Linked DNA regions of Homo sapiens: regions 1, 2, 3, 5 and 6 are each linked to region 4. The links are contacts of gene promoters, found by promoter capture Hi-C in blood cells and fetal thymus (Javierre and others, 2016). All regions are on one chromosome and are shown on one strand. Each heading gives the region's core, a stretch centred on a gene start or on the middle of the fragment in contact. The rest is flanking DNA. Distances are from core to core; before and after follow the strand shown.

What was found. Contacts are between HindIII fragments. The CHiCAGO score rates a contact against its expected background, and 5 or more counts as called.
Region 1: a contact is called between the fragment with the promoter of ECPAS here and the fragment with the promoter of PTBP3 in region 4, in 5 of 17 cell types (fetal thymus, activated CD4 T cells, total CD8 T cells and 2 more). The highest score is 6.5, in fetal thymus.
Region 2: a contact is called between the fragment with the promoter of DNAJC25 here and the fragment with the promoter of PTBP3 in region 4, in 14 of 17 cell types (naive CD4 T cells, fetal thymus, total CD8 T cells and 11 more). The highest score is 11.6, in naive CD4 T cells.
Region 3: a contact is called between a fragment that was not itself captured here and the fragment with the promoter of PTBP3 in region 4, in 3 of 17 cell types (M0 macrophages, M2 macrophages and endothelial precursors). The highest score is 7.2, in M0 macrophages.
Region 5: a contact is called between the fragment with the promoter of GNG10 here and the fragment with the promoter of PTBP3 in region 4, in 2 of 17 cell types (neutrophils and fetal thymus). The highest score is 5.8, in neutrophils.
Region 6: a contact is called between the fragment with the promoter of PTGR1 here and the fragment with the promoter of PTBP3 in region 4, in 1 of 17 cell types (fetal thymus). The highest score is 5.7, in fetal thymus.

Annotation. Positions count from the first base shown.
Region 1 is chr9:111,481,905-111,486,159 of GRCh38, forward strand. ECPAS (Ecm29 proteasome adaptor and scaffold) reads right to left here and starts at 2,479. Exons shown (of 50, transcript NM_001364929.1): 1 at 2,212-2,479. RefSeq lists silencers at 1,109-1,528, 1,799-1,918, 2,039-2,578. The HindIII fragment of the contact is 4,796 bases long and covers 645-4,255 here.
Region 2 is chr9:111,629,630-111,633,609 of GRCh38, forward strand. DNAJC25 (DnaJ heat shock protein family (Hsp40) member C25) reads left to right here and starts at 1,705. Exons shown (of 4, transcript NM_001015882.3): 1 at 1,705-2,114. The coding sequence starts at 1,779. DNAJC25-GNG10 (DNAJC25-GNG10 readthrough) reads left to right here and starts at 1,705. Exons shown (of 3, transcript NM_004125.4): 1 at 1,705-2,114. The coding sequence starts at 1,779. LOC107987116 (a long non-coding RNA gene) reads right to left here and starts at 1,574. Exons shown (of 2, transcript XR_001746897.2): 1 at 1,411-1,574. RefSeq lists enhancers at 1,569-1,658, 2,389-2,438 and a silencer at 1,749-2,038. The HindIII fragment of the contact is 9,325 bases long and covers 6-3,980 here.
Region 3 is chr9:111,755,683-111,760,052 of GRCh38, forward strand. SHOC1 (shortage in chiasmata 1) reads right to left here. Exons shown (of 28, transcript NM_001378211.1): 6 at 3,013-3,166; 7 at 2,402-2,513; 8 at 643-796. Among named protein-coding and RNA genes, the nearest start is that of SHOC1, 37 kb to the right of the region's middle. The HindIII fragment of the contact is 1,826 bases long and covers 654-2,479 here.
Region 4 is chr9:112,331,984-112,335,931 of GRCh38, forward strand. PTBP3 (polypyrimidine tract binding protein 3) reads right to left here and starts at 1,636. Exons shown (of 14, transcript NM_001163788.4): 1 at 1,487-1,636. RefSeq lists silencers at 1,001-1,490, 1,641-1,960 and an enhancer at 1,710-2,680. The HindIII fragment of the contact is 11,957 bases long and covers 217-3,948 here.
Region 5 is chr9:111,659,286-111,663,638 of GRCh38, forward strand. It overlaps GNG10 (G protein subunit gamma 10), which reads left to right and starts at 2,320. Exons shown (of 3, transcript NM_001017998.4): 1 at 2,320-2,430. The coding sequence starts at 2,350. All of the region lies in intron 1 of DNAJC25-GNG10 (DNAJC25-GNG10 readthrough), which reads left to right. RefSeq lists enhancers at 1,901-1,960, 3,031-3,130, 3,331-3,380 and silencers at 2,141-2,590, 2,621-2,740. The HindIII fragment of the contact is 12,879 bases long and covers 1-4,353 here.
Region 6 is chr9:111,598,040-111,602,155 of GRCh38, forward strand. It overlaps PTGR1 (prostaglandin reductase 1), which reads right to left and starts at 1,608. Exons shown (of 10, transcript NM_001146108.2): 1 at 1,564-1,608. RefSeq lists an enhancer at 1,459-2,031. The HindIII fragment of the contact is 792 bases long and covers 1,322-2,113 here.

The sequences.
Region 1 (4,255 bases), core at 1,229-3,728, 850 kb before region 4:
GACAGAAAGTACAATGATGGTCGCCAGGGGCCGAAGGGAGGAGGGAATGAGGATTTGTTGTTTAATGGGTATCAAGTTTCCGTTTTACAAGACGAAGAGTTCTGGAAATGGATGGTGGTGATGATTACACAACAGTGTGAATGTACTCAATCCCACTGAACTGTACACTTAAAAAATGGCTAGGACGGGAAATTTTATGGTATGTGTACTTTTCTTCCAATTAAAACAAAACATGGAACTGATCTCAGAAGGCCTGGTGGTGCTTCCACGTGGAACCGACAGAAGAGCAATCTGTAGCCCGCTTCTCTCTCTAATCGCACCATGAGACCTTGTCTCCTCCGACTCTCCAATCTGCTCAGGATCACACCAAGTGTTTACTTCAGCTTCAAAAAAAGCAAACAGTACTCCTGCTCCACCAGTTCTGTGTCAAAGCAGCAAGGAACTTAATCTCTCCAAACCTGCCTCCTCTTTAAAACAAGGATAATTCCTACCTATCTGCCTCACAAGGTTGCTATGAGGGCAAAAGTGAGATCATGTATATAAAAGTGGCTTTAAACTGACAAGCACCAGAAAAACATACATTACGTGTATAACTACTTTCATATGGAAATTCAGAAGCGGCTTTAACAACGTAAGCTTCATAAAGCTTGCAACACCTCACCCATGCTTTATTCCATTTAAAACCCACATCATCTTCAAATAACACCTTTCTTGTTTTTGCCATAAACTGAAGGGCAGCATTGGGAGAAAAAAAAAAAGGGAAAGAAAGAAAACCCTTGGGGGGGAGAACACTCAAAACGCAATCAGAAATTATCTCACATGTCCTATGTCCTATGAAACTTCGGTATTTATGACCCCAGCGTGGGTCCGCGGCGCCCCGGAACTACACTTCCCACAAAGCATTGAGGCGAACCCCGGCGGCGGGCGGGGCGGCCTGGGATTCAGGGTGACCACCGCTCTCCCCAGACAGGGACCGCCGTCCCCGGGAAGGCTGCACCGCGTACGATCGAGGGGGCACTAACTCTCCTTTCTGAAAGCGCTGTCACCCCGTGGTTTCTCCTGCGGTTCGACCGGCGACCCTCTCCGCCCTCCCTGCTCCATCTGAGGGTCACCGCCTATTCGTGACCTTTCGGCTGATTACTAGAGTGTCACAAAAAGGCACCTTCTCCCCCTTCCCGAAAGCTCCATTTCTATAACTCAACCAGCCGTCGGGGACCCGGGGCCAGGCGGGGTCAGACGGGACGGGCGGACACTGCCCGTCACCCCGGGGCTCCGGCCCTCCCGCCAGCCGAGGCTCAGTGGGCAGGGGGCTGGGCTCCCCCGACCCCGGGCCAGGGCGGATCGCGGGCAGAGGTGGCTCCGCCCGGGGCTCCGGTTTCAATTTCGCAACGTGACGGTGCAAACCTGAGGCCTACAAACGCCAGCGGCGACGGTCCGCGCCCCGCCCGTCCGCCAGGCCCGGGCTCCCCAGCTCCCCGTACGCCGCGGCCGCCGCCCGCCCACCGGGCCTGGCGCCCCAGCCCTCATGCGGCCGCCGGCCCCCGGCACCGCGCGGCGCCCGTTCCGGCTCGCGGCCGCAGGTTCGGCCGCGGCACTTACTCAGCTCATCCTGGGAGGCGGAGGCGGCGGCCGCAGCCATGTTGCGCCGGGGAGGGAACGAGGGAGGGGCTGGGGGGGCAGGGCGCGGCCGGGGGGCTCGCGGCTCGCGGTGCGGCAGGGGCCGCGAGCCGCCTCCGTTCACTCGGCGCGGACCGCGCTGTGCCCCGAGGCCCGCCCGCCGCCGCCGCCTGCGTCCTCCGCGTCGCGAGCGTCGCCCTTCGCTGCCCCCGCGAGCTCGCGACTCGGGCGCTCCCGCAGCCTCGCGCCTCTGCGGAGCCGCTGCCGCTGCCGCCGCCGCCGTCTGTGCGGCCGAATCCCCGTGCGCCAGGCCCGCGCGGCGGCTCTGCGACTCCGCGCCGCGCTCGCCCAACTCACGCCGGTTTTATATTTAGAAAGAGCTGAGCCATCCTCCCAGCGGCCCCCCCGCCGGGCCCCTCGCGCGCCCGCCCGCCCTCGCTCGCTCGCGGCTCGTCCTGCCCACCTGTCGCCGCCCGCCCCGCGTGCGCTCCCCGCGCGGACTCGACACGCGGCGGCCTGTGCGGGCGGCCCGGCCTAACCGCGCCGCCGCGCGCGCAGGGCCAGTCCCCCGCGGCCCGGGGGCGGGCCTCTGACCTGAGTCGGAGCCGGTCTCCATGCCGCGGACGCTGCGCTCGGCGCCGCGAGGTGAGGGCTGTAGAGCGAGGCGTTCGGCGGGCCGGGCCCCGGGGAGCCGCGCGCCGCAGTCCGTGAGGGGCTGGGCCGAGCGGGCCCGGGCTGCCCTAGCGGCCGGGGGAAATCCTCGAGGCGGGGCCGGAGCGCCCTTTTCCGAGGTCTGCGGCTGTCACGTTGGCTGGGCCCGACCTGGGGAAACACGCCTGTCCAAAGGAAGAGACGTGGACTCAGAAAAGTAGAGCCGGGCTCGGAGTCGGCGGGAGGAAGCCCCGCCCTGCGCCTCCCGCCGAACTTCTCGGCCCCGGCGCTGACTCAGTCCCGGACGAGCCCCTGCGCCGCAGCGGCCCCCGACAGCCCAGTTCTGGTGTGGAGGTGGCTGGTGCTCCCAAAACGGCTAGCGGGAGCAGGGGGTCCACTCAGCCCTGCAAAAGTTAGATAAGGCAAGATTCCTAAAGTTCACATGGAAGTATCTATGCCTATGTGAGCTCTGAGATTTTGTTCAGATACCCTATGTTCTTTTCGGTAACTAGAGTGATTTATTTTCGATATGCTGATTTTAACTTTCTGCCTTCGCTTTGTCCGTGAGGTCATGTACACTTGCAAAATGAAATTCAAATTCAGGGGTTGCATAATTGCTGTACTTTAAGTGATGGTACTGTCATAACAAATTAGATACAAGATCAGATACTTTTTTTATATAAGAAGAAATCAAGTCTTAAATAGATTGAAATTGCATTTATTCCTTAAAGCAGAAATCTATAAAGCCCTAAGTAATGTCTTAAAAATGGAATATATGTCATTCCTGTTGTAACATAGGCCAAGTACAAGGTACAACACTGAAGACATTTTTATTTCCTTTATTGTTTTTGTTATAGAAATTATACATGATCTTGGGCCGGGCGCGGTGGCTCACGCCTGTAATCCCAGCTCTTTCGGAGGCTTAGGCGGGTGGATCACGAGGTCAGGAGTTCGAGACCAGCCTGGCCAACATGGTGAAACCCTGTCTCTAATTAAAAAATACAAAAATTAGCTGGGCGTGGAGGCGCGCGCCTGTAATCCCAACTACTCGGGAGGCTGAGGTAGGAGAATCGCTTGAACCCGGGAGGCGGAGCTTGCAGTGAGCCGAGATCGCACCACTGCACTCCAGCCTGGGGGACAGAGCGAGACTCCGTCTCAAAAAGAAAAAAAAAAGAAAAATTATACATAATTTTTGTAAAAAAAAAATGCAAATGATTTGGAGTATCATAAAATTAAAAGTGAAAGTCCTTCCTCCTAGCCCCACCATCCCACTCTGCAGAGAAATTATGACTAACAGTTACAGTTAAGTGTGCAGAAGACCTTTTCTCTGGACATATATATACAGCCCCATGTATGGCTTTGATGGGGACAGGTTTCTACAATAAAGTTCTGGATCAATTATTCCTTCACACACATTGTTCCATGTTAATTCAAAACACTGCACTACCATCACCCTTTTTTGTTTGTAACTTCATACTACACTAAGTTAACCAACCCCTTTTTTCATGTATGCTCCTCTTTTATTTGATGTTGCCTCCAAAATAAATACACAATGAACTACTTACAAACAATAGAGAGGTGTATACAGGTCTTCTCCCAACTGCATACCCACCATCCCCCCTCATCCCACTCATGCCCATAAATAATCCCTATTAACAGTTTGGTGCATTCAACCTTTCCTTACTGTTTCCGTGACTATAGAAAGTAGCTGCACCAAAGACTGGTTTGGGGAAATTTGACTTCCCATAATTTCAAATGGATCCTTCCAAAGCCACCCCAGATAAATACAGAATCTGAGTAAAAAACAATGGGTTTGTTATTTTATTTTATTTTTATTCATTTATTTATTTATTTTATTTTATTTTTTGAAACGGAGTTTCGCTCTTGTTGCCCAGGCTGGAGTGCAATGGCGCGATCTCGGCTCACCGCAACCTCCGCCTCCTGGGTTCAAGCGATTCCCCTGCCTCAGCCTCCCGAGTAGCTGGGA
Region 2 (3,980 bases), core at 455-2,954, 700 kb before region 4:
TGAAAAGCTTTATTATTATTTTTTTCTTGCCCATGGCTCGTTTCTCTTCTTGGTACTTATTTCACACTCCCTTGTCCCCAAACTCCTCTCTAATTCACATCCTTCAAGCCATTCTCTATTCGTCCTCCAAAGTCAGTTTAGCTGTCAGCTCCTACTGGAATTGATGCTTGTAATTGATCCCGATCCTAATAATTTCAGGAGACCCTCCCATGTGTTTCCATTCATTTTATCTTTCTCATTATATATATATATAAGCATATATATAAGCCATATATAAGCATATATAAACATATATGAGATACAAATGTAAATAAGCATATATGATACACAAAATTGTTATTATATATATAACTTTTGTATCTCATTACATATACATGTATCTCTCTCATTACATATATAACTGTATATGTTGCTATATAGTCCCATGCAATATTTAGTGGGCTGAGGTGAAAAATAGACACATATATGTTATATATGTAATGACAGAGACATATATGTGTAATGAGATTATATATATTATATATGTAATGAGGGAGATATATGTAATGAGAGATATATATTTATTCAATGAGAAATACAAAATTATAATGTATATTCATTATGTATTATAAGTATATAATGCTATGTATCAGTATTTGATTTCACTTTATTAAAAGAGTTGATTATATCTGAACGTTTATTTATTTGTTACTGACTGTCATCCTCCATCAGAATATATGCTCTCTGAAGTTGAGCTTCTTGTTTACTTTGCTCACCACTGTATCCCCAGTGCCTAAGTAACAGTGCCCGGCTCAGAGTAGAGACTCAATAAACATTTACCAGATGAATGATAGAAACAGATTTTTTGAGGCAAAGTTTTTCATGTTGCCATATAGTCCCATGCAATATTTTGGACATACTTATACTAAAAAATTATTATCTGAAATTCAAATGTAGGCCGGGCACGGTGGCTCACGCCTGTAATCCTAGCATTTTGGAAGGATCGCTTGATCCTTCCAGCAGGTTGTCCCGGGAACGCGCAGCCCAAGGTGGACGCACAGACCCGCGTACAGAGATTTTTTATTGTCATGACTGGGGGTGGTGGCACTACTGGCATTTAGTGTGGAGAGGCCAGATATGCTGCTAAACATCTTACAATGCAAAGGGCAGCCCCTCAAAGGCAAAGAATTATCTGGTCTAAAATGTCAATAGCGTGGAGGCTGAGAAAAACTGAACTAGATGGCTATGAACTTTCAGGGTCCCTACCTAGTACACAGGCAGCGCCTAGAATTGCTAAGTTCATCTTCCGTTTGGAAAGGCAGCATGGGGTTAGTGAGAGGAAGGCGCCCGGGGCTGGTGGCTGGCTTTAAAGGCCTACGTGCAAATCTTCTTGACGCTGATAACGGGATGCGAGAGAGCCAGGTAGGTTACCTATTGCAGCAGGTCAAGTGATGATGTCGAAAAGGATGCGTGTGCCGGACACTGTGGAAGGTAAAGCGCTCCGCACAGCCCGCCTAAGTGCGCCCGGGACAGAGCCATCCCCCAGGTGCTACCAAACAAATCCTCCAGCTGCTGGTACGGGGAAGGTGTTCAGTGACACACCGGAAGCAGCCTAGTGGCTGAGGCGTCCTTCTCCCTACCAACGGGTTGCGAAGGAAGTAGTTGCTGTAGCCGCGCCCTGTGCGCCTGCGCGGAGGCGTCGGCTGCTGACGTGTAGCTGGGGCCAGACGGGACTAGCCGGGCGCGCGGCTGAGTGCTGCAGAATCGCTGGGGTGGCAGAGCCGCCAGCGAGGCTGGGGATGGGGGCGCCGCTGCTCTCTCCCGGCTGGGGAGCCGGGGCTGCCGGCCGGCGCTGGTGGATGCTGCTGGCGCCCCTGCTGCCGGCGCTGCTGCTGGTGCGGCCCGCGGGGGCCCTGGTGGAGGGGCTCTACTGCGGCACGCGGGACTGCTACGAGGTGCTGGGCGTGAGCCGCTCGGCGGGCAAGGCGGAGATCGCGCGGGCCTACCGCCAGCTGGCCCGGCGCTACCACCCTGACCGCTACCGGCCCCAGCCCGGAGACGAGGGCCCCGGGCGGACGCCGCAGAGCGCCGAGGAGGCTTTCCTGCTGGTGGCAACCGCCTACGAGACACTCAAGGTGAGGCCTGCGGGCGTGGAGGGGCTTCGAAGACTGGCCGCGGGAAGCCCACGGCGCCTTCCGACCCCGGTCCGCGGAGCGTGGGCCTCTGTGACCCCGAAACTGAGCACAGCCACCACCGCGACCTTTAAGATACTCACGTTTCCCACGTGGCCCTGTGAAAGAGCCGAGTCGGCCCCACGGGGCCTTGGGGGGCACAGCTAGCCTCCTTGCCCTCTTCCTTTTTGTGACATTGTTATGCAAAACTTTGGCCATCTTACGATTTCGTGAAAATATTTTAATAACGTGCATTTCACATTCGAAAAGCAGGGTGATCATTATTAGTAGGATCTGGGGTAGCCCACAACAGGGAAAGTCTCGAATATCAAGTGACAACTGTGATCGCATCAGTTTGATATGACAGAAAATTGGTTTCTGGAAATAGTGTTAATGGTGACGCTTAGTTTGGGTTTAAGGAACTAAGAAAACACTGAGAAGAACAATGAACACCAGTCAAAAGGCTGGATGTGAGTCTTTGCTGTGACACCCCTGTATGACCTTGGATAGTGACTTATTATGTTGAAATAGCTGTTTCTTCATATGCAAAATTAAGGCCATGATACCTCCTCTCAGAGTTATTATGGGGATTAAATGATAAGTGTGCGAACCGCCCCCCTTTCCATAGGATCCATAAATAGGTGCTTAATGACTTGGGTACAAAACTCTGAGAATTTCTAGTAGGAAATATTTTGTGAATATGTATTTGTATTTCATTTGACAGGTTTTATTGAGTCTTGTGGGGATGAGAGATTTAGCCCGATGCTGTTTTCTTCTACTACTGCAAAAAATCAAACCATCTAGGACATCACGAAGTATAAATCGTACTTGATGGTGGTATTACTGCTTGAAGGGCCCCATCATACTAATGCGTCAGCGATTGTAGTTGTAAAGTATTTCTTTTCTAGCCTTTTTTTTTTTTTCCCGAGGCAAAATTTTCTATGTTGCCAGGTAGCCTGCTTTTAATGATTGTACTTTGAGTGGATATAATTTTACCTTGGATTGTTCCTCCAGATTGTTTTTCCAGAGCTGAAAATAGTCAAGGAGCTAACAACTTTATTGATGCCTTCCAGAGCAGTTTGGATAATTTGGAGTCATAAAATGAGTGGTGGAGGGGCGGGCCCTGAACTAGGTAAACTAGGTGAATTGAACTAGGTAAAATTTAATTTACCTAGTTCATTAAATTCTCACTAGCGTTAGTGAGATTGTAATTTTTATTGGCAGTTAACTGAGGGATGGCTGGGGAACTGGGAAAGTGCTGAGGCCCCAAAGGGCTTTGTTGCCGATTATGTAAAAAGTGATGGAAAAAAGACTCCAGAAAAAATAGGAAAGAACTCTCCATCCAAGGCACTTCAGCATATGAAGCTCCAACCTCTGTTCCTTGTAGTCAGCCAGAAGCCCTGCTGGTGCGTGAGGGAGCCCTGGACCAGTGTGTGAAATCATAATGGGATTTACTAGGGATAGTAAAATTGATAGGATTAGGGATGTTAATCATGTTAATTTGTTTCAGGCGCGAGATGGTAATAAGGTTGTGGTGCTTGAATTTAGGTTGAGTGTCAGGAATGCAGTAGTTGTTAGGATGATATAGATAATTAGGTTAAAGATAGTGATATTTGGATTGTATATCAGTTATCCCATTATGATTTCACACACTGCTTTATAAACTAAGACCATGCAATAGTATTTAGTGTGTTTGACTTTTGGGGATTTAGGGAGTTTATGGACTTTGGAAGTTAAACAAGTGGACGCTTACCCTCTGTGTCAACCCATCTTCTGGAAGATGGAGAACTTCCAGAAGAGAGGGCAGCAGAAACACTGCCAGCTGTTGCC
Region 3 (4,370 bases), core at 317-2,816, 580 kb before region 4:
GTCAGTATAGAAGTTGATAATGTTTTTATTGTTTATAAGAAAACAACTCTTCAAAAATTTGTATAGTCATAGGTGTTTTAGTTTTATTTGTATAATTATCTTGAAATGGTTAAATTTCAGAGACGTTTTAAACCTGAAAGTCATACAAAGAGAATGACGGCTGGGTGCAGTGGCTCATGCCTACAATCTTAGCACTTTGGGAGGCCGAGGCGGGCAGATCACCTGAGGTCAGGAGTTCAAGACCAGCCTGATCAACATGGAGAAACCCCATCTCTACTAAAAATACAAAATTAGCCAGGTGTGGTGGTGCATGCCTGTAATCCCAGCTACTCGGGAGGCTGAGGTGGGAGAATCGCTTGAACCTGGGAGGCGGAGGTTGTGGTGAGCTGAGATCTTGCCATTGCACTCCAGCCTGGGCAACAAGAGCGAAATTTTGTCTCGACAACAACAACAACAACAACAACAAGAAAATGACAATGAGAAAATAATCTCATCAAAAATAATCCTGAGATTTCAACATGTAACTTGCAGAACATTTTTGCAAAATCTGGAGGTTCAGAAAAATTTTAATAAACAAGAACCTATGTAACAAACATTCTTAAGTGGTTTTTACAAGTAATACATTTTACAATTAATTCTCACCTCTTTCAAAAAGCTTTTCCTTTTCATCTACATAGTTTATTATTTCTGGCACTGGGTTTAATAACTCCTTCAGTTCTGAGAGTGATGGAATATCAATTTCTGGTTTGAGGCTTGGAGGTATTAAGAATTCATACTCAATAAGAAAACTTGACGGCTGAAAAAACATAGTTTAAAAAAGTTTTTAGAGAGGCTTTCCAAATAAATATTTTCGAAATCATAAGTGGACAAAATTTGCTTAAATGATGTGCCAAATTTTAAACTAAATCCACATTCAAAATTGTTAAAGCTATATATACTTTAAAAAAACAGAAATGTAGCAGCTAAAAATACGTTCTATTATAAGCAATGTTCTCTCTGAGTATTGTATTTTATGGTCACTCATTACATTAGTGGTGTACAATATCCCTAGATGCAGAAATAGCTTCTTTTTGGCTAATAGCAAATTGTAAACATTTTAAATTAAAAACAGTCACTGCAGTAGATGAGAGATAATAAATGGTGAGAAGTGAAATGAGATCATGGAATGGAATAGATCTTTACTGTGATCCATGGAGTATGTTTCTCTTTCATTCCAACAGAACTTGACTCCTCAACAAGAGAGACTAAGTCCACAACTCTCAGGGTTAACCTGGGAAGCAAGAGGTACTGGAGGAATGGGGCCTATTGGTGAATTAACCTTTTTACCATCATGTTAAAATTTTTATTGTAAGGAAACCCCTTAAGTGCTTTAAGTCCATTAAAATCTCCAAATATAAAACATTTTAAGTTGTCCTAAAAAAATGTTTTTTGTGTTTTGTTTTTGAGATGGAGTCTCGCTCTGTCACCCAGGCTGGAGTGCAGTGGTGCGATCTCACTGCAAGCTCCGCCTCCTGGGTTCACGCCATTCTCCTGCCTCAGCCTCCCGAGTAGCTGGGACTACAGGCGCCCACCACTATGCCTGGCTAATTTTTTGTATTTTTAGTAGAGACAGAGTTTCACCATGTTAGCCAGGATGGTCTCGATCTCCTGACCTCGTGATCTGCCCACCTCGGCCTCCCAAAGTGCTGGGATCACAGGCGTGAGCCACCGCGCCCGGCCAAAAAATGTTTTTTTAAAGTAGCTTTGTGAACGCATCTAATCAATATGGGCCTAGATTTCTGAGCTTGTCCAGCTGCAAAAAGTTATTGCAATCGCAATAGCTAGAATTCTTTACATACTGATATTATGACCATTTTGTGTGCTATTGAAACTAAATGCATCTTTGAGAAGTTTGGCCTTTAATATGCAAAAGATGCTATCATCCTTGTTAAACACTGGCAGAAAACTAAAATTCAGTCTTGGACCCTCTATATTCTTACTCTTGCAATATTCTCATTAGCTCAAGTACTATTTTTTGTGTATAACTCACAAATCAATATTTCTAGTTCAGGTGTCAATTTTTAAACTAGACATGACTACTTAATTTCCTATACCAGGTATATTGATTACAATTATTGGAAGAGATTTTAAAGTTCCCTATGACTGGCCTGCACACCAGACCAATTTATCAGAATATATCTCAGGCTTCAACATTTTTTTTTAACTATTCAGGTAATTCCAACATACAGCCAAGGCTGAGAACCACTATTTAGAAGTAAATTTGACTTCTTAATTGATACATGTTCATTCCATTATAAAATCTTTTTAATTTGACAATTGTAGACAATGTATATTACACAAATTTTACAAAAATGTGCCTCACTACTTTTACTAAAATATTATTGAAAGCCAGTATTACAACCTCATTTAAACATATTGTATCTTCTAGTTTCTCTTGACAAAAGTTCACTTTATCCATACAAAAATCTTCTTTCACAAAAGCTTCCAAAGTTTCTTGAAGAGAGAAACATTCCCTTAAAAAAAAATACATTAATTAGTGTTTACTAAAAGCAAGTTACATACTAAATGTAGCCAACCAAAACACATAATCATTAAAATTAAAGTTGAGGTAAAACGATGATAAAAGTTATTGGCCGGGTGCAGTGGCTCACGCCTGTAATCCCAGCACTTTGGGAGGCCGAGGCGGGTGGATCACCTGAGGTCAGGAGTTCAAGACCAGCCTGGCCAACATGGTGAAACCATGTCTCTACTAAAAATACAAAAATTAGCTGGGCACAGTGGCGCACGCCTGTAGTCTCAGCAAGGCTGAGGCAGGAGAATCGCATGTGCCCAGGAGGCGGAGGTTGCAGTGAGCCGAGATTGCGCCATTGTACTCCAGCCTGGGCGACAGAGCAAGACTCATCTCAAAACAAAACAAAAAAAAACATTGTTGATAACATCTAAGCTTGTGATCATACTAAAACATTTTCACCTCTTAAAAATATTTACAGCATTGGTCAATTAAGTAAGTACCTGGAAAAATTAGCTTCTGTGAAGATCTGTCCTTTGAAATCTAAAAGAGGATCCTTTACCAAAAACAGTTTTAGTCTACTCAAGAGAGTAGGCAAAGTTGGTAGGTGTTTTCTACTACTTACAAAAAGTATTCCTTTATCATCAATAAATAAATCTGAAAAGAAATAAGAAATATAAAGGAATAAGAAAAAAACAAAAAGTTATCCAAAGAGATCTAGATAGTTAATGTAATCAGTCATTAGATACAGCTGGGTTTTTCAATCACATTTTAAACTCTGTAGCTCTTCATTGTACTGTGCATATAGAGCATGTAGCATAGTTCTGGAACAAAGGCAAAAGTACAATAAATTTTAGTATTATCTAGGACACCGAGGAATAGCCAAATATCCCAAAAGAGCTGTAACGGCTAATACTTTATCAATAAAGATTAATCAATGGAGGAAAATATCTTATGGACTTACACTTCAAAATAGCCAGGCGTAGCCTAAGCAAAATTTTAAAGAAATAGAAGTATTTGACTTCTGCTGACCTTGGTCTTCTCTGCATCATTTTACCTCTTAATATCTCCAATTCATCCCCCAGAGTCTCTGACATGTAGGGAATGGAGATGGTCTACAGTGCCTACAAATGAGACTGATTCTATTATTCTTAAGTTATTCACATGGTTGCTATAAAATTATTTACAGTGAAAGTTTTAAGCAAAGAATCTACTTGAGGAGTATGATATAGCTTATGTATTAAGAAACACTACTGCTAACAGTTAATTTCTGGAATAAATTTCTCCTCTCGGTCTCCACCCTGCCTTGTCTGGGTTTCTTTAGAATCTTGGCTAGCTGTCTAACAGCTTTAACAGTTTCTAAGTCACAGGAAGGAACATAAACTTGCCCCCAATTCTTCAATAAGTTTTTGAGTAGAAAGAGAAAAAGAAAAATATAAGCTCAGATGAAGAACTACTCAAAAAGCCAAGTTCCCAAAAAAGAAAGCCATCCTGAAGGGAGAGCAATGGTTTCTCATCCTGGGTATTGACTTTTCGGTTAAGTGACGCTGAATGGCATAAGAAAAGAATAGTACGGAGTTTTCAGGTAGTAATGTCTCCCACGGTTAACTACATAATTGGTATGCAGGCAGCAAGGGAACATCCCTTTGCTTGGTGCTAACTTGATATGCCTTAAGAGAACTTGTGGTATGAACTAGCTTCCTAAAAGAGATTTATCTGAACTTAAGTTCCTGACAATCTCATGGCCAAAAGCTTCCCATGACACACCAAAGGAAGTTAGTCAATCAATTCCATGTCTAAGGAGGGCTTATCTGAGACAGTTAAATATGGTTTACTGGTATAATCCATTCTGTAAGTATTA
Region 4 (3,948 bases), core at 386-2,885:
CAGCCTGCCTGAACCAAAATATTAGTGACACAAATCTTTACGACCACAAAATTTTTCAACATATAAAATGCAACTGAATAAGGTAATGTGAAATAAGTTTTCAACAATGTTCTCGAAGAAACTTCAATCAAACAATAAAAACAGCTTCAATTCCCCCCCAAAATATATACACCTACTGTGTACCCAAAAAAGTTATAATTTTAAGAAATTTTTTGAAGCTTCAATCAAATAAAAATAAAGAACATCACAATCATGAATAAAATCTAAAACTCCACTTTGATGTCTGTAGCAGTGTGCAATCTGCATTCAAATGAATCAATCCGAAATGTCATATACACTTAATATTGTGAAACTAAAATAAATGAAATCTAATGAGGTCAAAAGCTGTTGGAAGATTTCATCTTCAAATAGCATATCATCAACTGTATGGCAACATGTGAACGACTTTTACTGTTCTAGCAAGTTGCATATATTCCACAACCTCACAGAAATCTTGTCATCAAAAGTAGGTAACAAGCTAAAAAAAACCTCAAATACATAATGGGAATAAACCGAGTTGGAGATTTTTTTTTAATCCGTAGGTACAGATACTACAACCTTCAATTAATTCACCAAAATCCTAACATAGTTGTTACTTTAATTACCAAAATATGTCAAGTCCCACCCCATATCCCTGAGTCCCCAGAGAACAGTTTATATACATAGACTCTAAATCTTTTTATTTTGGTCACGGACCCCCATTAAATTTTTGAGCATTTGAAATGCCCCCGAAAATCGCTCGTACATCATATTTTACATACACGGGCAGATAATTCATTAAGTTTCTTGGGGAGAGAGAAAGGTGAGGGGGAAGCGTCCATGGTCACTAAGTCCAGACCCCTGGTGTCGAGAAAGCGTTAACGTATCTCACAGCACAAGTCGGGAGACCTCGGCCAAGTCCCGCGGCGGCCCTGGGACCCCGCGTGGGACCATGGCTTGCGACCAGGTCGCCGCCCAGACGTGTACCGACGCGTGCACCCGCCGTCGGCCGCTCGCCCCACCTCGCCGGTAAACAGCAACTCCCCCGGCAGGAGGACGCCCGCCCCGCGCGCCGCCTCCGCCTCCCCCAGCGCCGCGCACCATTTTCTGAGAGGAAGTGTCGGGAGGCCGAGCTGGGCTCCCCGGACTCGGGGCGCGGAGGGCGGACCTCGGCACCGCGGCCGGACCGGGCTTTCCTCTGCTCCCGGGTGTGTCGAGTAAGGCTAGGAAGCAGCGGACGTGTCCGGGGCGCCGCGTGGGGAAAGGAGAGCCTGCGGCGGACGGCAACTCCGCGATTCCGGGATCCCCACCGAGACGCCCGGAAGCCCCGCCGTCGGGCTTGGCCGGGGCCGCTCCTCCGGCCGCCGGCGCCGCGCACTGCTCCCCAGCCCTTACGCGTCCCGCGGAGAGCCGGGTGGAAGCGGCGCCAAGGCAACCCGGTGCGGCCGCCGCGCCGCCTAGTACTTACCCATCCATGGCCCAGATGGAGGCGCGCACAGAGCAGGGACTGACGGGCTAACCGCGAGCAGAGGAAGCAGGCGGCGGCAGCAGGGCGGTTCCGGGGACAAGCGAGCTTTGGCTCTGCGGAGCCCCGGCCGGTCCGAGGTGGAAGGAGAGTGGGAACAGGGGCGGGGACCGGGCACGCTCCCGCCACCGCCGCGCCCCCGCCTTCCCCACCCCGCGAGCGCGTCCCCGCCTAGCCCGACCCCGCCCCCTCACCGTCCCCGCCCTCCCTCGGGGCCCGCCCCTGCGCTCGCGCCCACCCTCGCCCCGCTGGCAGCCGGCCTCCGGCTCAGCTCTGGGGCGCCCTCTTCCCGCGGTCGCTGTAAGACCCCGCCTCTCGGCCCCTCGGCCCGGCGCGCGCGCGCGCCCCCAGCCTCCCTCCTGCGTTCGCGGGAGCGCGCGCCTTGTGCTTCCCGCTCCGCCGCGCACCCCGCCCGCCCTCCCGCGGCCCCGCGGGCCTTCCGGCTTCGCAGACCGGGCCTGCCAGGTTTGAATGCCTCCCTCTGCCGGCAGGAAAAGCTATGGGGACCTGACTCCCAAGAGTAGGAAGGAATGTCCCACAAGGACCCCAGAAACGAGGTGGAATTGCCCCGGGTGCGCGAGGCTGTAGATGACACGTCCAGGGACCAGCCTCTGGCAGCCCGGCGCTGGAGTCGACCGCTGGGACCGACACCAGCCCCATAGGTGTGGCTGGGACGATGAATGAGGTGAAAGAGGCTGCCCGGACTGGAATTTGTATACAATTTAAGTATCTGAGTGCATTTCGACCTAACCGTCTAGTATTGAATTTATATGAAAAATTCATTGTACAAACATGGAATGGCTATATTCCCAGCATTTTTTAAAAGTTTACTCATTATTCCCTTTTTTCAGATGAAAATACATATACAAAGAGAGTGATTTGCTCACAGTTTCACAACCAGGAAACGTTTGCACCAGAGCCCTTCCCTCTGGTCTGAGCAAAAAGTATATATATAATATAACGAGTGACAACACGCTTGCTTTTTTCCCTTTTTAGTGAGAAATTGAGTACTTTTTCAACTCACAGATCACCAAAATGTAACCCCCTAAACTGTTAAGCCAAATTCTTAACCTACTGAGTAAAAAAGAGCGGGGCTCCTCCCCGTGGCTTCGTCATTTGAAAAGCAACTAACAAGAACCTCAAACATCTATCCTTGCTAATTTCCTGCTTTCAGATCAGTAGGTGCTGCTAAAAAGATCTAAACTGTGGACTCATTCATCATTCAGTCAGTATTAACCTACTATGTGCCGGGCACTGCATGAATACACAAGAAAATCAGGTTCCAGCCGTCACTGTTGAATGGATTCTTCAGTCCGTTTATGTATATTTTTGACATACAACTTTTCAAATAGGTAGAGTAATTCGGTGAGGTAATTCTTAAAGTCCTGTATCTAACCTCAGTCCCCTTCCAAAATGTCAAATACATTTTGTTTTGTATATTAAATCTAAATATTAAGTTGCATTTGTAAACATTGCCAGATGGAAATGTAGAATATCAACAAGATAAGTAGCTGATGCAGTCTTTCTATCACTGTATTTGGGATATATTCTGTTGATGAAATTTCCTTAACCCTTTTTTTAGCTACACAAGTAATATCAGCATAAATGCTCATTTTGGAAAATTCAAGCACTATAAAATATTGAAAAGTTATCATTAATATTTTTCTTCCCAAACCACCCCCTGCCCATGACTACCACTGTAACAATTCTGCGTGCATCCTTCTGGACCTTACTTTTTTTTGTTGTTTGTTTTTTTGTTTTTTTGTTTTTTTGTTTTGAGACGGAGTCTTGCTCTGTCTCCCAGGCTGGAGTGCAGTGGCACAATCTGAGCTCACTGCAACCTCTGCCTCCCGAGTTCAAGTGATTCTCCTGCCTCAGCCTCCTGAGTAGCTGCGATTACAGGCGCCCGCCACCACGCCTGGCTAGTTTTTGTGTTTTTAGTAGAGACAGGGTTTCACCATGTTGGTCAGGCTGGTCTCGAACTCCTGACCTTGTGATCCACCCACCTCAGCCTCCCAAAGTGCTGGGATTACAGGTGTGAGCCACCGCACCCAGCGACCTTTACCATTTTTCTTTTTTTTTTTTTTTTTTTTCACCTAAAAATCCTGGATTATAGCTGGGCATGGTGGCTCACACCTGTAATCCCAGCACTTTGGGAGGCCGAGGCGGGCAGATCACTTAAGGTCAGGAGTTCGAAGCCAGCCTGGCCAACATGGTGAAACCCCCCATCTCTACTAAAAATAGGAAAATTAGTCTGGCTTGGTGGTGCACGCCTGTAATCCCAGCTACTCAGGAGGTTGAGACAGGAGAATCTCAACCCGGTAAGCAGAGGTTGCAGTGAGCCGAGATCACACCACTGCACTCCACCCTGTGTGACAAAGTGAGACTCCAGGCTGGAGTGCAGT
Region 5 (4,353 bases), core at 1,070-3,569, 670 kb before region 4:
ATTTCTAATGATTTTGAGGTAATCTCATTATTTCAGCTGCCATTGCTGTGGAGACATCTTCACATTAACATCTTGGCTACTAAACATTTTCAGCAGCCTAAAGGCATGTAGCAATGCCATGGAAGTCACTTCGTTACTCCTAAACCAAACCCCACATTATTTTTTACTCATCTCAAGCCAAGTCTTGTTTCCTAATTTCTGTTTTGGCATTAGTTCTGGCCCACTCTCTGCTACAGAACCCTTTGTCCTCTTTTCTTTGCATTTCATAACCACCATGAAGTACCACTGATTTTGTCTTCTAAATTTGTTCCCCCTCATTCCTACTCTAACAGTCCTACCCAGGGCCTCATTCCAGCTACTCCCCCACCATCAGCCATTTATCTTCTCAACTTCAGTTCATTTTGCACATTCATCTCAGATTAATATTCCCAAAATGCCTTACCCTGTGGCTATCCCACTGTTTACCATAAACTTTTGTGTGTATGTGAGGTTTTCTATGACTTCTGGCCCTAGCAACTTTGTATCTGCTATTAGTCACTAGAGCTTCCTCTATTTTTAAATTTATTCACTCTACATGTGTGCATCGCCTCCAGCTGTCCTCCATACTGGACTGTTCTTCCTTCTGAGCCATCTGCAAGACACGTATCTCCAAAGTCCAGCTCTCACGATCTATGATGAGCCTTTCCTAATCCAGTATGTATATCTTTGCACTGAGTTCTTTGCCATATCTTTTAAATATGAAATCATTCTATTTTGTCCTATTCATCAGTCTCAGAATTGATTGTTGAATGTTCCCAACATGTACTTTCATCTCTTTACTAAGATATATATTAATTTCTTTGTGGTGAGGAAATTGGCCACTAGAGAGGGCTTTCAAATGTGCAAGTCTCCCTTTGGCCCAGGCACAGCTAATCTGAGCACGTCAATGCCACACATCCTTGCCTTCAAAGAGTAATTGGGCCAGGGGTGGGCCCATGACTTAATACCAGCCAGTGAGGTTCATTATGGGGATTTTTGCTGGAACGATTAGAAAGAAAAGAGGTACTATTTTTCCTGGGTTTGCTAGATGGGGACAGTGAAAGTGTGGTGCCTTCCTTCATACCACTAGAGAAGTCCATCTACCACCAAGGAAAATGAGGCTAATCTCAGGAAAAGCAGAATCAAAACAAGGAGGATGAGAGCCCCAAAATTATTATTTGGGTAATTGAATTCACTAGTTTAAAGTCCCTGGACTTTTCAGTTACACAAGCCAATATATTACCTTTTGCAATATTCAGTTTAAGTGAGTTCTGACAAATACAATGGTGTACAAGAATAATGACGTATTAATGATACATGGAAAAAAGCAACACAAAAATTTTAAATATAGTAACGATCCCAGTTTTGTAAAACACTTATTAAAAAATGCAGTAGGCCTATAATGCCAGCACTTTGGGAGGCTGAGGTGGGAGGATCACCTGAGCCCAGGAGTTCAACACCAGCCTGGCCAACATCGTGAAACCCCGTCTCTACTAAAAATACAAAAATTAGCCGGGCGTGGTGGTGTGTGTCTGTAGTCCCAGCTACTCAGGAGGCTGAGGCAGGAGGATCACCTGAGCCCACGAGGTGGAGGCTACAAGGAGCTGTGATCACGCCACTGCACTCCACCCCGGGTGACAGAGCAAGACCCTGTCTCAAAAAAAAAAAAAAAAAAAAAAAAAGCAGCAGAATAGAAACAATGATGACAGTTAAATGGTGAGATGAGAGTGAGAAACGCTGAATTTAATTTTATTCTGTATGTTTCACAAAGATGTCAGGGTCTGGGATTTTATCCAATTTACCATACTCCACCAAATCAACTGGTAGGATCTCCGTGAAACAGTAACAGGGTCATTTAGAAACCTGTTGCTGCCTCATGAAAATCCTATGAACTCTCCTTGGTTCCCCGGTGATACTGTCTGGCAAGGCCCCTTATCTCTCCAACTCATGTCACACCTTGGCTCCAGTTCTCATTTCTCAGGGGTGCGTGTTTGCTGCCGCCCACTCCATCCTCGCGTCCCACGCCCTCGCGATTCCTGCTCATCCTAGGGGCGCCAGCTTCGCTGGAGGACGCCGCGCTCTGCGGGTCCCCGCCTCGGTTCCAGGCCCAGCTGCAGGTGCCACCCAGGTTTCAGGCGCTGAGGAGCGGAGAGCACTGCCAGCTCGCTGGGGTCCCCGCTGTCTCTGGCAAGCGGCTCCGCGCCGGGTGGGCTGGGGCGGCGGGGCGGGCGCAGCTGCTTCCCCGCCCCGGGGCGGCACCCGCGCTCGGGGCTGGCGGCTCCTCCCCGCCCGGCCGGGCCCAGCAGCCCCTAGGAGCCCAGCGCCGCCGCCATGTCCTCCGGGGCTAGCGCGAGCGCCCTGCAGCGCTTGGTAGAGCAGCTCAAGTTGGAGGCTGGCGTGGAGAGGATCAAGGTGCGGGCCCCGGGTACCCACGCTCCGGTCCTTCCGCCCGCGGGGCGTGAGAAGAGGAGGCCGGCGGCCCGGACCGGGCGCCAGCGGGGGACTCGGTGGCGGCGGCGAGGCCTCGGCGGGGCGCGGGGGCGGTGGGGTCCGCGGTGAGGGAGGGCGCGGGGCAAGCCGGGGGCCCGGGCCTGACGGGAGGAAGCCGCGCCTGGGGGGCCCCGCGGTCGTGGTCGGTCCCGGTCCCTGGGGGTGCGCCCACTCCAGAAGGCGGCCGTGGTCAGTTCCTCGGAGGGCGCAAGGGATGCCGGCGACGCGCGGGCCGGGAGGGTGGACCCAGGGCTGGGGAGGCCACCGCAGGGCGGCGAATTGGTGATGGATTGGTAGGATGAGAGCGAGAGGGAGGAGAGCCAGGATGCTCGGGTTTCTGTCGTCGTGACAGGGTGGACGGCGCTGCCACCCGCCGAGGTAGAGAGGAGGGGGAACAGGTTTGGGGAAATGATGAGTTCGGCTGCGGACCTGGGGACTCCGGGGAGTCATCCGGGAGGTATTTGTCCTCATGGCCTGAAGCTCAGCGCCCAGGGCTGAAAGAGGTCATTCAAGTGCATTGGGGCGAAAAAGCCTCTTCTATGAAGAGCAGAGCTCAGAGCCTGGGACCCGGGGACCAGCCACACCGATGGCCGGTGGCCGAGAGAAGAGGAAATAAGAGACAGCAAGGTTTCCGAGCAAGGCCTAGAGAAGAGGAAATAAGAGACAGCAAGGTTTCCGAGCAAGGAAGTAGGGATTTCCAAAAACTGGGGGCTCAGTCAACATGTCCAGCGTTTAGTCAGTTGGCTAAAAGGCGTCTGTTGTAGAGCTGTGTTTAGCTACGAGTGCAGCATTATTTGCAGAAGATCTGTAAGAAGGAACACAACCAGGATAGTCCCTGTGCCTCAGTTTCTCCTTTGCTGTGTGCCTGGCACTGCTACAGGGAATAGGGTGGTTCTGGAGGGGAAGGTAAACAGCAACTTAACGGATACATAGCATCGCTTCATGTACTAAGTGGAGTGAAGATAATAAACAGGGTAAAGGGAGAGAGGGCTGTGGAATGCAGAGGTCTGGTGGCTTATGTGTTAGTAAAAGCAGAATCTGGACTGTCATAGGGTAGGCAGACGTTTTTTCTTTTTAAAGAAACCTAGTTTTAAAGAGGAAATAACGTGTTTTTTTAACTTAGGAAATGAAAAGCCATGTTTTAGGGTTGAGAGGAAGTAACAAATTATATTTTTAGGTTCCAGGGAAGAAACAAATGGAAGCCAATTGCTGGTAGAGGAGACAGGGCTACGGGGGGGTGGGGGATTGGTGGCACAGCTTCTGAGACAGGAAGAAAGAAGGTAAGGGTGTGTGTAAAGATAAGTTTCTAGATATGGGCTAAACTTGTATGGTGACACTTTTCTTTGTGAAATAGGAGGCCAGGTTTTCTTCTAAGGCAGAGGAAAGGGGACTAAGGGAGTGGCCCCTGAGCAGGCACGCAGATGCGCTGTGACTGAAGACCCAGCTGCTGTGACAAGGGAGACTGCTGGTCATATTTGTGATTTTTTTTTTTTCCTGCAGCAATCTTTACCATCCTGGAATGTGAGTGCTGAAGGTGAACGGTAGTTGAAAGAGGAGTAAGTTAGCAGGGGAGGTATGCCAGAAAGGTGGAGGTGGGGCCGGAGGGCAAGGCGTGTGAAGGTCTGGCCAGAAAGAGGCTGAGCCTAGATGGATAGAGAAGGAATGCAGCCAGCCTCCTGGTGATAGGTGAGACAGAAGGGGAGGAGGTGATGCCTGGTGATCTCGGTGAGGTCAGAGCAGAATAAAGGAAGAATAAAGGAGGCAGCACCCTGGATGGGAAGGAGAGATTGTGATCAGAGAGTAGGATACTGGAGTGTAAAATTTCAGAAGTGGAGCAGTTACAGG
Region 6 (4,116 bases), core at 358-2,857, 730 kb before region 4:
GAGGAGCCTCACTGTGTTGCCTAGGCGATCCGCCCGCCTCGGTCTCCCAAAGTGCTGGGATTACAGGTGTGAACCACTTGCACTCAGCCATCGGGTGCGAATTTTCTTTGGCCCAGTAGGGATTTGAGTTTAAACTCCACACCAAACCGATTTTGAGCTGAAACGCTGCACCAAAGCAAGGGAAGATGATGAAGGCTGCCCCGAGCTGGGGGTTCAGGATGTTCTGCTTGGACTGAACTCTGCCGAATCACTTGGGACCTGCGCCTTCCCGCGGGTGCATCCGCTACAAACAATCCAGTTACGAAACCATTTGGAGCTGCCAGTGATCTCCCCAGCTCCCCTACCGGTGCCGCGGGAGGGGACACGGTGACCTGGAGGGAGCACTCCCGCATTGCGAGGGAGCCAGGGGGGCGGTCTGATCTGCAGCCCGGGGTTGTTCCTTCTTTTCTTTTTTTAAAATTAAGACTTTTTTTGTGACGGAGTCTCGCTCTGTCGCCCAGGCTGAAGTGCAATGGCGCGATCTCAGCTCACTGCAACCTCCGTCTCCCGGGTTCAAGCGGTTCTCCTGTCTCAGCCTCCTGAGTAGCTGGGATTACAGGCGCCCGCCACCACGCCCAGCTAATTTTTGTACTTTTAGTAGAGACGGGGTTTCCCCATGTTGGCCAGACTGGTCTAGAACTCCTGAGCTCAAATGATTCGCCCGCCTCGACCTTCCATAGTGCTGGGATTACAGGCGTGAGCCACCGCGCCAGGCCCTACGTATCATTTTTACGGTGAGACATTTGCAGTTTACTCTGTTATTTCGAAATACACATTATTGGCTCTAGTCACTCTGCTGTGCAACAGATCTCAGAACCTACTCCTCTCGTCTCTGAACTTCGTACCCTTTGGCCAACAAGCCCCCATTCCCCCCCGAACCCGCTCCCAGCCTCTGGCAACCATCATTCTAGTCGTTATTTCTATGAGTTCAACTTCTTTAGAGTTCACACATCTTTGTCCCTTTCCCCAAAAAAGCAACCGCTGGGCTTCCAAACTCGCTACAAGTCCAGAAGCCCTCCTGGAAAGGGTCTGGCCGCAGAGGGGCCAGGTCCCGGGAAAGTCTCGCCCGCCCGAGGAGGGGGCCTGGCGCGGCGCCCGGCCTTTGCCCGCTCGCCCTTTGCTCCCACCCTCGCCTCCCGCCGCCCGCCGCCCGCTTGCCCATTCCCGAATCCCCACCCCGATCTTTCTTCTTCTACCCTCCCCCAGTTGTGCAGTCCAGCAAGTTCCCTGGCCAGCCCCCTCCCGGGTGCAGGAAGCTACCGGGTGTCCCGGGTTGTAACCAAGCTTTCCTATTCCCTCCGGCGCGCGGCTCCAAGCTCTCCAAGGAACTGCGGGGGCGGGAGGCGTCGGGACGTCGGCTCCCAAGATCCTCCGAGTGCAAGACCCAGCGGTCATTTCGACGTAAGGGGAGGAGGTCTAAGAGCAAACCTCCTCCACTGGGGCGTCTAGAAACTTGGCAGGAAGAAAGCAAGGGGGTTAGAGGAGGGAGAAAAGGGAAGGAAAGAAAGCAGGAGGTCTACTTACAGGAGCCCGAAGGTTCCACTGCCTGGGGAAGGCGGCTGGGACTGCGCAGCCGGGCGCCCGGGGTCCGACTTATGACAGGTCCCAAGAGAGGGTGGGGCCACCCCAGGGCGGGGCTGCTTCTTTAGGGTGAGAGCCCGGCCCCGAAAGGGTCACAGGAGGAAAACCAGGGTCCGGGAAATCTGAGTGCGTTTGTGTGTGTGTGTGCGCGTATCTCTGTGTGCCTATGTGCATGTGCGCGCGCGTATGTGTGCATGTGTGCGTGTGTGTGCGTGCGCGCCCGCGCGCCCGTGTGTGTGCGTGTAGGGGGTTAGGGACTCCTGATAGGAAAATTCCTAACAGAGCTTTGTCCAGCTGACACTGGACCTCCGCCTGGGGTCCTAAGTTGGAGCCCGGCGGAAATATGCCCCGTGGGGGAACCAACCGTGGCATCTGCCAAGCAGGCCGGAAGGGTCCAAAGGCAGGGCCTGGGGCGGCCGCAGCCCTAATAAGCCCCCGGTGCTGGCTCCGATCCCTGGGCTCCCCGTCAGCCCTGCCGCTTGCCCGCAGTGCAAGCTTTCGCCCAGGGCTGCGGTGCAGACACCCTGCCTGTCTGTCCCCAGTCCGCCTGCTGAACACCTACTCGCCTTCCACCAGCCAATTCAAGGTCACCTCTGTGAACCCTTGCCAGACTCCCCCAGGCAGGAGTGAGCACTCTTGCCACTGAGGCACCCCACCCATCACACCCTAGCAAACATCAGGCCTTGACCTGGCTTCTGCAAGGAGAGGTGGTCTCAGGCAGGGGTTGAACGTGAAGCTAAGTCGTTGGTATTAGACGACTGCAGGTTCGAAGCCTGCACCTGCCACTTACTAGTGGTGTAGCTTTCAAAGACTTACTTACCTTCTCCTTGCCTCACTCAGTTCAGCCATCTGCAAGATGGGGATAAGAAGAATGCCTAACTTCCAGTCATTGTGAAGATTCAATGTCTTTAATTTATTTATTTAATTTTAATTATTTTGAGGTCTTGCTCTGTCACCCAGGCTGGAGTGCAATGGTGGGCATCATAGCTCATTGCAGCCTTGAACTCCTGGACTCAGGTGATCCTCCTTCAGCCTCCCTAGAAGCTGGGATTACAGGCCCACCACCACACCTGGCTCAATGTCTCTCCTTGTAAGGATACCCGCCATATTGGATTAGAGCCCCACTTGTCAGCCTCCGTTTAACTTAAACACGTCTTTGAAGGCCTTGTCTTCAAATACTGTCAAATGGATTAGGGCTCACTAATATGGCCTCATGTAACCTTAATTACCTCTTTAAAGGCCCTATCTACAAATACAGTTACATTCTGAGTACTGGGACTTGGGGATTTTAACACATGAAATTGGGGAAGACACAGTTCAGCCCATAACAGAGTGTGTGGACCAAGCGTGGTGGACGCATGCCACAGGATATACACAGCATCAGAAGCACTGGGTTCCATGTACATAAAGCAACTTGGATGGACCCTAAAAACACAATGCCGAGAGTTGAATTCTTCACACTAATCAGAGTTGGTGGCACTTTATCCCCACTGGTCTGCCAAATTCTTTCTTTCTCACTCTCTCCCTTCTCATTAATTTATGTAACTTAATATAAAACAAAACTCCATTCCCAGGCTGGGTGCTGTGGCTCATGCCTGTAATCCTAGCACTTTTGGAGTCTGAGACAAAAGGACCACTTGAGGCCAAGCATTCAAGACTTGCGTGGGCAACATAGCTTTAACCTGGGAGGTGGAGGCTGCAGCGAGCTGCGATCGTGGCACTGCACTCTAGACTGGGTGTCTAAGTGAGATCCCGTCTCAAAAGAAAACCAAAAAAACTCAATTTCCTGCTTTTCTCCTCCTACTATAGGTAACTACTGTGATGTATTTGATTTGCATACAGTTTTTTTTTCCATGTTCTTACATAATGTGCACTGTGGTCATATACATTTAATTTATAGAAACGGTATTGGGTTACATATCGCATTCTGCTTCTCTCTTTTTTTTTTCTTTTAAGATAACTTGTTACAGAATCACTGTTTCTTTTGGATATTAGAAGTGTTAATAAAATTGCAGGCATAAAAAGTCTTTGCAAAGTAAGAATAAGAGAAAAAAGTGCCAGAAACACAGAGTGGCTCACATATTTACTCACTTGTCCTTAAATTGAAGATACAGATAAGATTGGGCCGCACCAGGTCAAACAAAATCTGTTTCCCAAACTTGATGACTCAGTCAGTCTCAAAGGCTGCAGCTTGTCAAGTCATGGTGATTAAGTTAAATCACGGCTGTTACATACTCGCACACAGAGAGTTAGAATATGGAATAAAGGATCAAGGAAAAAGATTTTCCTTTGCTTTACCCCAAGACAAAACTCTACTCAATTCAGTTCTCTGATCTTAGGTTTCAATGAGTTCTGATCTAACTGTGGAGGGAACAGTTCACTTAAAACAATAAAGCAGTAACAAACAAGTAATTAAAAAATGCTTTTTTATCAAATAATTCAGATGATACAGATGTGTACGCTATAAAAAGCAAAAGTCATTGTTATCTGTTTGGT